Regions from separate parts of the Homo sapiens genome. Here regions 1, 2 and 3 are each linked to region 4. Evidence: promoter capture Hi-C in 16 types of primary human blood cells and fetal thymus (Javierre and others, 2016). All regions are on one chromosome and are shown on one strand. The core of a region is centred on a gene start or on the middle of the fragment in contact, and the rest is flanking DNA. Distances in the headings are between cores, read along the strand shown.

Region 1 (3,236 bases), core at 546-3,045, 220 kb before region 4:
GGGCTACAGAGTGAGACCCTGTCTCAAAACAGAAAAAAATGAAGCTGAGGATTCTCCAACTTACAGCCATTAAGGGCAGTGACTTCAACGAGACTACTTTTCCTGCTATTGACAACAGTAAAACTGGATGAACCAAATGAGGCCACTGTTTTCAGGTGGTGAACGAAGACAGGATAAAATATCAATCTCTGAAAGTAAAGTCACAGAGTGAACACCTGGATATTTGGACTCTGCCTGGGGACAGTTTCCCAACGGAAGTGCAAGTAGCAAGGATCTGAGTATAGCACAGCAGTTCCGCAGAACTAAGGTTCTGGATGGCTTGATGGAACTGGAATCCCTTAGGTGTGGCATCAGTGAAGAAGTGCGAGCCCCCCAAATCCACGTGGGGTCCACCAAAGTTCCTGGATGAAGACTGGTCTGCACATGCACATTCTAGACCACCCAAAGCTTAGCAGAGAGGTAAGTCTTAAGAAGTATTTGTCTCATTTATACCCATGGGATTTTAATCAATGGAGGTAATGACAGGGAGATGCCAATGCCATTGAAATATGTTTAATGTCACTCACAGTTTCGGTAGAAATTAGAGGCACAGAATGTGAAGCAGGGGCATGTGGGGAAGCCCCAGGTGTGATCAGGAGACAGAGGCAGGAGTGAGCAAAAACCTAGGCCAGAGCCCTTATGATGTGTTCTGTGGGAAAGGCAGAACAGGGCAGGAGATGCAGCTCACAACTGGTCAGTTTGAATAATATTGGCAGGGTGTGAAATATAGTGGCAGCCTCTAGTTGTCTGGTACCTGGCCCTGGGTTGACTTAGGGCAGAGAAAATGTTGGCTTGGTGTGTAAGAGAGATAAAGGAGATGGTTCAGAGCGGGGGCTCTGGATCTCGGGGGAGATGCAGATACCTTTGGCCATGAGTTAAACCCCGTAGTTAATGGATACCAAATAGAGAAATACAGACTCAAGAAAACACAAAGCACTATCCCAGTTGGGAGAGCACAAAGGAGACATTATCAAAAGTAATGTGGGATTCTGGATTGGATCCTGGAGCAGGAAGTGGACAGGAGGGGACTACCAACAAAACTAAAATAAAGCCTGTAGATTCAACATTCATTTCCTACTTTCAATAATTGTATTAGGATCATTTAAGATGTTAACATTAGACGAAGTTGGGTGAAAGATCAAAACTCTGTACTGGCTTTACAACATTCTTGTAAATCTAAAATTATTTCAAAATGGCAGGTTAAAAAGTATTTTAAATGATACCTACAAAATACTATCATGATAGTGATAGTGAACACTCACTAAAGATATGATCAGGATGCCCTAATAGGCCTCCTTATTCTTGTAATTGCAATTAGAGTTCCTTCTTTCCTTAATATTATGTAACTGGAGCTCCCTTGAGCTATTTCTAGCCTGGGGTATAATGTCTGACTCATACACATGTAGTTTCATAGGAAGCCTTGGGGCCCTAGCAGAATAACACTATCACCCACAAGATAACCAGCCAGGTGCTGCACCAGGTCTAGGCCCTCTGTGTGATGGATGCGGTCCCGTAACCAAAGGGAGACAAAGTTACCACACCCTATGTGGCCCAGAAAAATGGCCAGAGACTGAACTGGCACAGTCTCTGCTAACACAAGAGTAACAGCACTCTTCCACCCAGTCCATGCTGCCTGGAACTTCCCTGACAGAGAATCATTCTGGGATCATTCTCGAGAACTTGGCAAATATCTCAACACTCTGACATCACATTCTCTTCTACAGTCAGGATCCTCAATCCTGGATTATAGACTCACAATCTCAACTTCTTTTCTGGACACTGGAAGTCTTTAAAGATAGAATGGTCAGAATGACTGAAAGTATTTTTTTGTAATGAGAAGCCAAATTATTGTAACACATAAAATGATTTTGCTGAAAAACTTGATTGATGGCACATAATTACAAGGCATATTCTTTCCTTTCTTAGTAGCTTAAAAAATCAACATTTCTTTCCTTCTCTAATACATTACTTGGGAATGTCTCAGTGGGGAAGGCTCATTTCTCCTTCGCACAGTGTTAGCTACGATGGCCTGACTGAGCCTGGAGGATTTGCTTCCAGAATGGCTCATTTATGTGCTTGAGAAACTGGTGCTGGGTGTCATTTGGGAGCTCAGTTCAGGGAATTGGCTAGGGGGGTCTTAGTTCCTCTTCATATTAGTGCCTCCACAGGGCTACTTGGGCTTCCTCCCAAGAAATCTGTATTAGTCAGGGTTGTCTAGAGGGACAGAACGAGCAGGAGATATATATATACATATATATATATACACACACACATATATATATCTTATTATTGTGGGACCTTGTGATCGTGTGAGTTAACACTACTTAATAAACTCCCATATATGTATATGTATACTTATTATAATTAATGTATGTATATCTACATATGTATATATGTGTATGTATATATACACATATGGGAGTTTATTAAATAGTATTAACTCACAGGATCACAAGGTCCCACAATAGGCTGTTTGCAAGCTGAGGAGCAAGGAAGCCAGTCCGAGTCCCAAAGCTGAAGAACTTGGAGTCTGATATTTGAGAACTTGGAGTCCGATGTTTGAGGGCAGGAAGCATCCAGCATGAGGGAAAGATGTAGGCTGGGAGGCTGAGACAGTCTAGTCTTTTCACATTTTTCTGTCTGCTTTCTATTCTAGCCAAGCTGGCAGCTGATTAGATGGTGCCCACCCAGATTAACATCGGGTCTGCCTTTCCCAACCCACTGACCCAAATGTTAATCTTCTTTGGCAATACCTTCACAGGCACACCTAGCATCAATACTTTGCATCCTTCAATCCAATCGAGTTGACAGTCAGTATTAACCATTACAGAAGCCAAGCTCCGCATGCAAGTATTCCAAGAAGCTGATGAAAATCATGTCCCTGACATGGAAATCAAGACACTTTCACCACATTCTACTGGTCAAGGAAGTCACAAGGTAAGCCCAGATTGAAGAGGAAGGGATTCAATTCCACCTTTCAATGGGAAGAACAGAAAGAATTTGTGGCTATCTTAAACCTACCACTTAGAGTTTTCAATAGTTTAAAGAATAATTTATTTTTAGAACAGCATTAGATTTACAGAAAAATTAAGAAGCTAGTATAAAAAGCTTCCAAATACCTTGAAACCAGCTTCCCCTATTTTTAGCTTCTTACATTAGTATTTTATTATAATTAATGAAAGGATATTTATACCCCG
Region 2 (3,193 bases), core at 670-3,169, 180 kb before region 4:
AAGTTATTTTACTTATACAATTAATGTTTCATTCTGTATTTAAATTTCCTGTAAGAAATATTCCTTGATTTAATAATGAGGAGCTTTGTTATTTTTTTAAAATATGGTGACATGTTTCTTTATAATTATGTACAATTTTTTTTACTTCTAGCAACATAAATACTGAGTCATTTATTCTTTATTGCTCATACCCCAGGGTAGTTGTTGAGTTATCTTACATGATGTAAGTACCGTCTTTTGCAGTACTTTATACTCTTCGTTTGTTTTGTTATAGCCAGAACATTATAAAATCCAGTTCTTAGATCAGACATATGTTGAAAGTAACCCTTTTTCCACTTGAATTGTTAAATTGTTTAATCTAGCATCTTTACTCCTACAACTTGCAGTACCATTCTTTGTTCCAGCACATTGGATGTCACCTCTATATCAGTTGGTCCTGTCCCAATAGTGGCAGAATGATATCAAAAAGTGAAGGTCTCAGTGTAATATGAAGCCTCAGTTTTTAAAATAAGTATGTATATCTGTTGGATATTCTGGTGGTAGTCTCAAAAGGATGACCTGATAAACTGACAGGCATCTTTAATTAATGGGACAACACTGAGAGGTATTCATATGGCAATAAAAAGAGAATAGAAGAGTTAAGCAATAAGCCACCCACACCGCTCTGTGAGCATAATGGATATGATCACACCCACATTGCCAAGTGTGTCTGCCAAAACATATGGAAATACATCTTTCTTCTAGCACTCATGCCTCATTAATGGCTGTAACTGTTTCACAGTCATGGTGTCCACGTATATGATACTAATGGCTATGATTAGATGAGTCACATCTTCATTGAGTAGCTCAATAGGTATTGTTATGGGCATAGATACCAATCAGGTTTACTACCAGCCCCGTAGCTGAGACTGGTGTTAATATGTGTATCTAGTCCTAGAGGATCAATTGAACCACTGACTAACACAAAAACAAGTTTTGCCATTAGAAAAATCTATTAATAGAAACCCAAACCTCACCATTATGAAGTATATCCATGTAACAACCTGTAAATGTACACCCCGAGTCTGTACAAATAAAAAAGATTACATTATGATGAAATGGTGAAACAGAAAGCTTTGTTACATGGAACTTTTCCTGTTGCATTCAAAACTGCTTCATTAAATAGTCCTGCAGAATAGACTCTACGACTTTCAAAGCTAGGAGAAATTGGAGTGACCAGTTTATTCCTTTTATGAAGAATTATCCCTGAGATGCCGAACATCTGTGTGTCAGAAGCTCCCAGCTAACTTTCAAAAGGCAGTTTAATTTCCAATAATAGTAATTCAACAAAACTGAGAGTTTAAATTAGGCAATTTAACTAATAGGCAAGTATTCTTTGTTGTGCTTCACATTTATTTTGGAGGTCCAAGATCTGCAATTATGACAAAAACCACCACCACCACCTGAGGGTACATTCTGTTTGGCCTTAAATAATTATAGTGGCCCCCACCCCATGTCAGAAATTGGTTTCAGAGTGGACTAGTGACCCTGTTTTTCCAATGAGAAAGGAAAAAAGCTGTGGGGCTTCTAGGAAGGTCCCTCCTTCCTAAGAAAAAGACTGAGAATCTCTTTGGATCTCTGGACATTGCTGTGTTTGGATGTGATACCAGAACTGTTCCATCCATGTGCCAGGAGCCTGGAGGCGAAACCAGTACAGTCAGGACCACAAAGCATAGATGAACACAAGCTGGGACCTTGAGGACATGGATGAGTGGCTGAATCAAACAGCCCTAAAACTTGTTTGACCTTAGAACTTTCAAATATGTTAGAGAATAGATTTTCTAATAGCTTAAGCCTGCAGAGGAGGAGTGGGAGTAGACAGCTTGTCGCTGTGATGGCTGCCAGTGGCTGAAAGTGATTTGGAAGAATCATCACATTCTGGATGTAATGTAATGTTTTGGTTTGGTTTTTACAAATCTGCTATCAAATTGATGATGTGGCTCATACTTGGTAATGGTGTCAAGGAAATACAGTACATTAGAGCTGCTGCTCAGAGTGGAAAGGTGCATGTTAGGAAAGAGGTCAATTCCTTCAAAACACTTGTAAGTTTGTTTTAATACCAATTGAAATACAAATGGAATTTTCTTGGAGAAAAGAAAAAGTCTATTAATAAATTGAGAGAGAATTTCTATTTGGGTGCACCCATAGGAGAAAAATCCCATTGCATTCCATCTTTTCATCAGGGCAGCAATAAATATCATGACTAAAACACATCTGTCATAGAGTGTGTGAAATACATCTGAGATGAGACCCAGACTGCTGGTCAACACATCATAGAATGATTCTACAGAGGCAAAAAGCGTTCCGTCCTCTCTTAGAGGGAGATGAAAAGACGTTGGTAGACAAAATGAAGACCTAGTACTCACTATCACTCCTCCAGACAGGATGTGTTCTGCACTTTCCTGGTATGCCATTTTGTTCATAGCCTGAAGTCAGACTGTTGTTGGATGTATTCAGAAATTTCCAAAGCACTAATAAAAACAGGAAAGGATCAATCATGGGGACATTTGGAAACTTCCATTTTGACTGAACAAATGGAATCCACGTAGATATCCAGGATTACGACAAAGAAGATAAGCATTGTGGAAGCCATAAAGGGAGAAATCCAAGATTTATCTTTAACCTCAGTTGTCACAGGAAAGACAATGACCCATGGGCACAAGAGAAGCAGGAAATAAGATGGGATAAAGCTTGAAGACTTTTGGCTCCACTGATGTCTATAGAGAGCTTTCTGGGAGCTGTATGAAAACCAGCTTTACACCACAAAGCCAAGACTAGCAATAATATTCCATGCTTGTTATCTGCCATGTCTAAGAAGGCAATGGTTGTGTAAAGCATGTAAGTTAGAGCCCTGAACTACCCTAATTAAATGGGGTGTTCAGCCGTTTTAGCCTTGAGATCATCACTGTCAAAAAACAGCAATAAATAGATGACAGCAATAATGAAGAAAGCAGTCCCCTGTATTGAAGTTCTGCTCTGTGTTACAAAAAGAGCTTGGTTTATGGCTGTATTTCTTAGAGATGAGAGACAAAATATACAGACAATGGCCAGACCACATATAAAAACAGAACTCTGACCCATAACCTACAGCAGCCTGCCTAGGAAATCAACCCACTTTTCTACAATAAACAGCCCAGGAAGCCACTTGCTGTAA
Region 3 (3,135 bases), core at 570-3,069, 210 kb before region 4:
AACACTTTCTATATATTAAGAGCTTAATTGTGCACTAGAAATATAAAAATAACAAGATAATATCTGTTCTGGAGTTGAGGCATTTGGGTGACAATAAATGAAGTTACAAAACAATGTGAGAAGAGGCGATGAGAATACAAAGATAAAGACATATCTAGAGCTCTTCTGGAGTGATCATGTCATTTGAGACCTCACAGATGAAGTAATATCATAGCCTACTGTTGTATGTTGATTGGGGTTTGAGAAGATTGAAAAACAAAACAAAACAAGGATGTCCCAGACAGAGGAAATAATCAGCAAAGCTATAAAGGATTGAAATAGGAAAAGGAAGTCATTCTATGAACATGACTGGGTTAAAGGCGCTAATGTAGACTCTGGTAGATCTTAAAAGTTATTTATAGGTAAGGACTTTCTACTGCTATTTTGTTTATTGTTTTATAGATCCTTTGTTTCTTTCTTCCTGTCTTACTGTTCCTTTGTGGTTAAGTGATTCTCTCTAGCAGTATATTTTGATTCCTTACTTTTTATTTTTGTGTTTTTATCTACTATAGGTTTTTGGTTTGTAGTTACCAAAAAAAACTTTATAGTTACAAGAAAACCTTATAGTTATCATATGTTATTTTAAGCTGATAACAACTTTGATAACAAAAAAGCCCACCTCTACACTTTTACTGCTCTGCACCTTGTATTTTGAATTTTGATGTAATCATTTACATCTTTTTATGTCGCATATCTCTTAACAAATTATTGTGATTATTTTTAATAGTTTTTAAACCTTCATGTGAAATACATGTGATTTATACACCACTGTTACAGTATAATTCTAAATTTGACTGTATACTTACTTTTACCAGTGAATTTTGTACTTTCAGATGTTTTTGTGTTACTCATTAGCATTTTTTTCTTTCAGCTTGAAAAACTCCCTTTAGCATTTTTTGTAAGATGGCTCTGGTGGAGGTAAACTCCCCCAGCACTTGTTTGTCTGAGCAAGTCTTATCTCTCCTTCATTTCTGAAGAAGATCCTTTTAGGGTATAGTATTCTTGGTGGTAGGTTTTTTTTTTTCCCTTCTGCACTTTGAACTCTCTCAGGTCTGTAAAGTTTCCGAGAAGTCTGCTGGTGAGCATATTGAAACTCCCTTATATGTTATTTGCTTCTTTTTTCTTGTTGCTTTCAGGATCCTATCTTTGTCTTTGATTTTTGGCAGTTTACTTATAATATGGCTTGGGGTAATCTTATTTGGATTGAATCTGGCTAGAGTCCTTTGACCTTCTTGTACCTGGATATTTACATCTTTCTCCAGGTTTGGAAAACTTTCTGCTATTATTTGTTTAAATAAGCTTTCTACCTCTTGGTCTCCCTCTTTAATTCCAGTGACCCAAACATTTGCTCTTCTGATGCTGTCTCATAAATCCCATAAGCTTTCTTCATTTCTTTTTATTATTTTTTTCTTTTTTCCCCTCTGATGGTACATTTTCAAATAACTTGTCTTCAAGTTCACAGATTCTTTTTTCTACTTGATTAGTTCTGCTGTTTAGACTCTGTATTGCATGTAAAATTTTGTTCATTGTATTTTTCAGCTCTGGGATTTCTGTTTGAGTTTTTTAAAATTATTTCAGTCTTTGCTAAATTTCTTATTCTAGCCACTTACTGTTTTCCTCATTTCTTTGAATTGTTTCTCTGTATTTTCTTTAAGTTTGCTGAGCTTCCTTTAAAAAGTTATTTTGAATTGTTTAGTAAGGAGTTCATATTTATCCATCTCTTTATTGTTAGTCACTGGTGCTTTATTTTGTCTCCCCGCTAATGTCATATTTCTCTGATTGTTCTTGATCTTGTGGCCACACGTCAACATCTGCATATTTTAAGAAGTAGGTACTTATTTCCAGTCTTTGTAAACTGGCTTTGTCTGGGAACGCCCTTCAACAATAAGCCTGTCTAGATAGCCTGGACAGACTGGTGTGATCTCTGTGCCACTGTGGCCATTACAACTCTAGAGGGTGACCTATGCTGGTACGTGATGACAAGCACGTTGCCCGGCTGGAATCTCATGGCTTCTGAGGCTGGCACAGAGCTGGCATATGCCTGAAGCCTGTGGCTGCTGGTGCCTGCCTACTGCCAAGATTTGTCTGTAGCCCAGGGCCCAGGCTAGCAGTGATGCAAACTGTGGATTGAGCTGGCCTTGCAGGGGCTGTGGGTTCCCATCTGGTTCCCGGGCAGCTCTGGAAGCTTAGTCCATAGGTACTGATATGGGTTGAGCGGTTGCAGGGGTCTGCCTAATGCAGGGTTTTACTGTGGAAGATCCAGTATTAGGGTCCAAGGCAAAATTTTGTTTACTTTCCTCTCTTTCCACCAAGCAGACAGTATGTATCTCTCTCTGTGCTATGCTGCCTGGGGTTGAGTGAAGGGTAATTTGGGTGACATAAAATTGTTCTTCCTACTCTCTTCAATGCATCTTTTCTTATTATGCTATAACTAGGTACTGTGATCTCTCACCTGGTTTCCTTAGCTCTTTTGAAGGTATTTTTGTGCATGAATCATTCAAATTGATGTTTCCGTGTGGGCAATGATTACTAGAGAGTCCTAATGCACCATCTTGCTCTGCCCTTCTTCCCAAATGCCTGTAGCCTCATAGAAAAACATTTGTAAGAAGTAGATATCTAGGGAAGGATTCCACTGAGAAGTGGTCCACATTTATGTTTTTAAACAGCACGTTTTAGTGTGAGGAGGCCATTAAGTGGGGATATTTATGAAAGAATATAGGCAAACTGTTACTTAGAATGTCTTCAGTTCTGTAAGGTGCTTGGCATGTAAGGTGCTTGGCCTACATATTTCTTTCAAATTAGTACACAGTCAAAAACTTTAATCAGTATACAAATTATTCTGTTAGAAGAGACACTTGTGTTTTCCATGTTTGTGTTTCTCCTTAGGAGTTGTATTTCTGTTGCTGAGATAACCTATTGTTATATCCTAGTTTATTTATAATATGTTTTGTAAGAAAGACTGATGTCATTCATTGTAGGTGTAAAACAGGCTTACCATGAAATGAAAGCCTTTGTTCAACTTAGAGTCCTAATGTTTCTGATTTCTTACTCTTGTTGCTGATATACAGAAGCAGCTACAAGAGCTGAAAGATGACT
Region 4 (3,510 bases), core at 212-2,711:
AAGTGCTGGTGTCAAAACTGCCTTTCACAATCGTTCATTTCTGCACAATCTCTTTTGCACTGAACCTCATCTCATAAAGCCTCTCCTCTCTTTGTGGCAGTGTGAGCCCCATCTGCTCCATCTGCCCAGCAATTCCAGCAGACATAGAAAATCCTCTTTCCTAATGGTTTCAGCAAATGTCTCAGGGTTGATTCTCATTGGGCTAAATTAGGTAACATGCCTTCCCTGAACCAATCACTGTGGCCAGGGAAGCAGACTCAACTGATTAGCCAGGTTTGGATCCTATGTCCATCCCTGGAGCTGGTGAAGGCAGAGCAGTGGCCAAGCCCTATTCAAATTAAATAGATGAAGAGGACAGAGAAGTGGTTTCCCAAAAGAAAACAGAGTGGGGAACTGGCGTGAGCCGGGGAGCCGTGTGGATTCCTGGAGGAAGAGTGTGCTAAGCTGTGGGAACAGCAAGTGCAAAGGCCCTAAGGTGAGCAACTTGCCTGGCAAGTTCAAGGTTCAACAAGGCCACTTCTGCTGTAGTATCCTCTTCCCTGCCAACCAAATCCAGAATAGTGGTCCAACACACACACACACACACACACACACACACACTCTGTTCCTTATCCAACTGTAATGCTTTCACCCTTGCTTGGTACCTTTGTACTTCTCCCTTCATAGTCGACTAGTTAAAAAAAAATACATTTCTCGGCTCTTTTTTGAAGTAGGTGTGATTGAGTTAAAACATATTTACTTGACATAAGCTTAATTATTCATCAATGGGAACCTGAAAAGGGAGTCAGAGAGGCCAAGAGGTTAGGGTGGAGTAGAGGGGGTAGGGAAGGTAAGCTGGGGTGCAGAGGGTGCAGACTGGAGGAATGGGGGCGAAGTGGGGTATGGGACTGGGGTGGCAGGGAGGGGCTGGGGAGAGAGAGAGAAGGGTAGGTGCCAGAGGGCCAAGGATTGTGGAACTGGGGTGGGGTTGGGAGTTGGGGGGTGGGGAGGAGATGTGGGGTACTCTGTGAATACCTTAGAAGGGATAGAGAAGGCAGGGCTAGGGGTTTGGAAGGGGTGGGATTGGAGGTCAGAGGGGCTCAACTGGGGTTAGGAAATGGAAAGGTGAGAAGAGGTGGGGGTTAGAGGCTGGGGACTGGGGTCCAGAGAGCAGAGTGAACTGAGTGGGTTCAGAAGAGTACTGGCGTTGGCACTTCAGAGGCTGGACTAGAGAAGGCGCGTTCAGCCGACGGTGCGGGATACACTGCCGAGGAAGTCCGCGGCGAGGGGCGTGGTTGGGGGGTGTGTATTACACGGTATCCCCCCCTTGCCTTTCCAAGTCTTTCCCTCTGGTTCCGCCTCCTTTTCAGGAGTGACATACCGTTGCCCAATCAGAGCCTCAGGCCTGGCGTGGCACAGCCAACCGCGCGGCGTGGGGAGGAGCTGGGGAGGGGGCTCGCAAGGCCGGGGAGGGGGCTAGGGGCCTCCGAGGGCTCCGGAGCGGCGACTGGCGAGCCATGGCGCTGGGGCTGCAGCGCGCAAGGTACTGAAGTTCGGGGGCAGGAGTTCTGGGAATTGGGGGGCTCTCCTCCTGGAGACCCCTGAGCTGGATTGTTGGGGGGGGTGGGGTTCGCGGGTGCGAGCCAAGAACGCCCCGGGGCGCGCAGTTGGAGGCACATCCCCACCGCACTCTCCACCCTTAGGGACTGCAGGGGTGGGGGATTCCCTACGTCTCTGGCTGCCCCGCCCCTCTGGCCAAGAGCGGCTTCGGGGTTCCCGATTTCTCGCTACCCAAGGCTCATTTACCCTCCTGGTTGGGGGTGGAACTTGGGATTCCTGATAAATTAGGGGTGATTGCATTTGAGCAGTCCCCAGGCTTCTGCGGGAGATATTCGCCCTCCACATATTGATCCCTCTGGCCTCTGAACCCCCCAAAATTGAGGGTATTCTTTGCCACCAGGTGCCTGGGATCCTAGGTGATATGGGATACCCCTAAATGGAGCCTTCCCACATATAGGGAGTCCCTTGGAATGGCATTCAGCTCCTGAGTTCAAGAGAGGAGAGATCTCCTCTAATAGTATGCTTCCTGACACAGTCTCCTAAACATTGGGTTTCCCTAGAAATGGGCAGAGGGGAGCCCCTTTCAGAAGCCGTCTGGGACCCTTCCCAAGAGACTTTTTGTATCCTTTCAAAAGCCAGAGTCACCCCCTTAAATAACAGGGAAACAAGCTGGACCCACTTCCCAAAGTCCAGCCCCTCATCTCACCCCTGCACCCCCATCCTGAGAGACAGGGGAGCCTCATCCAAGCTTTATTTTGGGGAGACTCCATGGCAGGGTGCTGTGAGCCTGCAGGCTGTGATGGGAACGCCCCCTGCCGCAGTACTCAGATGGGGTCATCCCGGGCAGAGGGTGGGTTTCTGGGTTCACTTGCCCAGCAGGTGCAGCTCTGCTGGAACACAGGGGAACCTGTGCCCTGGGGCCGCTGCCGGGGGGTTTTATCTGGCCATGTTCCCATGGGACCCTGGAAAATGTTCTAGGTCCTCAGCTTTCCCTGTCCAATGTGAGGCACCCAGTAAGCCTCACCCCCTTCCCTCCTCCCTGGCTTCTCAGGCCTGATTGGATCCATGCACACCCCATGTTTCTAACCGCCCCCATCCTCTCCCCTGTCCCCTACTCTATTCCAGGCCCTGGCTCTGGGCCTAACAAGGAACTCTATCCCACCCCTTTTGGGCCAGCTGTCGTTCCGCCCCTCTCAGCGCCCCCTCCTGGCTGGGTGGGGGCCCCTCTTGGCTGAGCTCGGGTGCCCCCCCTCCCCACCCAAGGCCGGCCCTTTCCTGTGGAGTCATCTCACCGCCGTGCGCACCCACTCGTAACTCGCACCCGGGTCCTGGCTGCACCGCATCCCCTCCTGCACCCCCTGGATGGCCCTTCAGCCAACGGGGGCCTGGGCGATGGTGAGTGGGCCCCCAACACCTCCTTTCCCCCTTCCCTTCCTCTAGCTGGGGCTGGCTGCCATCCCACTGTGGCCAAGGATGCTCTTGGGAAGTCCCTGGTGGGTACGGCTTGCAGCCCAGAGTGCCCAGTGAGGTAGTATTCCCGGAGAAGATAGGATTTTGGGGACCAGCACCCTACCAGATTACCATGTCCTTGAGAACAGGCAGAGTCGGGGGGCAGAGAGACTCCCCCAGACCCCCATGCCAAGTCCCTTTGCAAACCCAAACCCTGCCTCTGGTCTCTCAGGACACCTCTCTGCAATGCCAAAAGGCATCCTTGCCCAGCTACAACCTAAACCCCCACCCACCAAATCCTCTGTGCTTTTCGTAAGACGCCCCCCCCCAATACCCAGCTGGGTGTCAGAATAGAAAAGCCCAGAAGTAGCCCTGAATGTGGGCAGGGACTGCCTGCTTTTATTATGCCTTCCTCATGGGTGGCAAATTCTTCAGGGCAGGGAAGAGGTGAACTTCTCTCCTTCCTGGTTGGAGGGGGGCACTGGGCCCCAACCCCCATTCTCAGGCCTCACCCTGAGCCCG

Evidence for each region. Contacts are between HindIII fragments. The CHiCAGO score rates a contact against its expected background, and 5 or more counts as called.
Region 1: a fragment that was not itself captured here is called in contact with the fragment with the promoter of HIF3A in region 4 in 3 of 17 cell types (M0 macrophages, M1 macrophages and M2 macrophages); the score reaches 6.8 in M0 macrophages.
Region 2: a contact is called between a fragment that was not itself captured here and the fragment with the promoter of HIF3A in region 4, in 1 of 17 cell types (M1 macrophages). The highest score is 5.1, in M1 macrophages.
Region 3: a fragment that was not itself captured here is called in contact with the fragment with the promoter of HIF3A in region 4 in 2 of 17 cell types (M1 macrophages and M0 macrophages); the score reaches 5.6 in M1 macrophages.

Annotation. Positions count from the first base shown.
Region 1 is chr19:46,071,998-46,075,233 of GRCh38, forward strand. It overlaps a transcript of IGFL4 not described here. Among named protein-coding and RNA genes, the nearest start is that of IGFL4, 33 kb to the left of the region's middle. The HindIII fragment of the contact is 2,700 bases long and covers 446-3,145 here.
Region 2 is chr19:46,110,860-46,114,052 of GRCh38, forward strand. It overlaps a transcript of IGFL2 not described here and the pseudogene LOC100533846. Among named protein-coding and RNA genes, the nearest start is that of IGFL3, 12 kb to the right of the region's middle. The HindIII fragment of the contact is 1,616 bases long and covers 1,112-2,727 here.
Region 3 is chr19:46,088,601-46,091,735 of GRCh38, forward strand. It overlaps a transcript of IGFL2 not described here. Among named protein-coding and RNA genes, the nearest start is that of IGFL3, 35 kb to the right of the region's middle. The HindIII fragment of the contact is 805 bases long and covers 1,418-2,222 here.
Region 4 is chr19:46,295,581-46,299,090 of GRCh38, forward strand. HIF3A (hypoxia inducible factor 3 subunit alpha) reads left to right here and starts at 1,462. Exons shown (of 15, transcript NM_152795.4): 1 at 1,462-1,522. The coding sequence starts at 1,497. The HindIII fragment of the contact is 1,538 bases long and covers 748-2,285 here.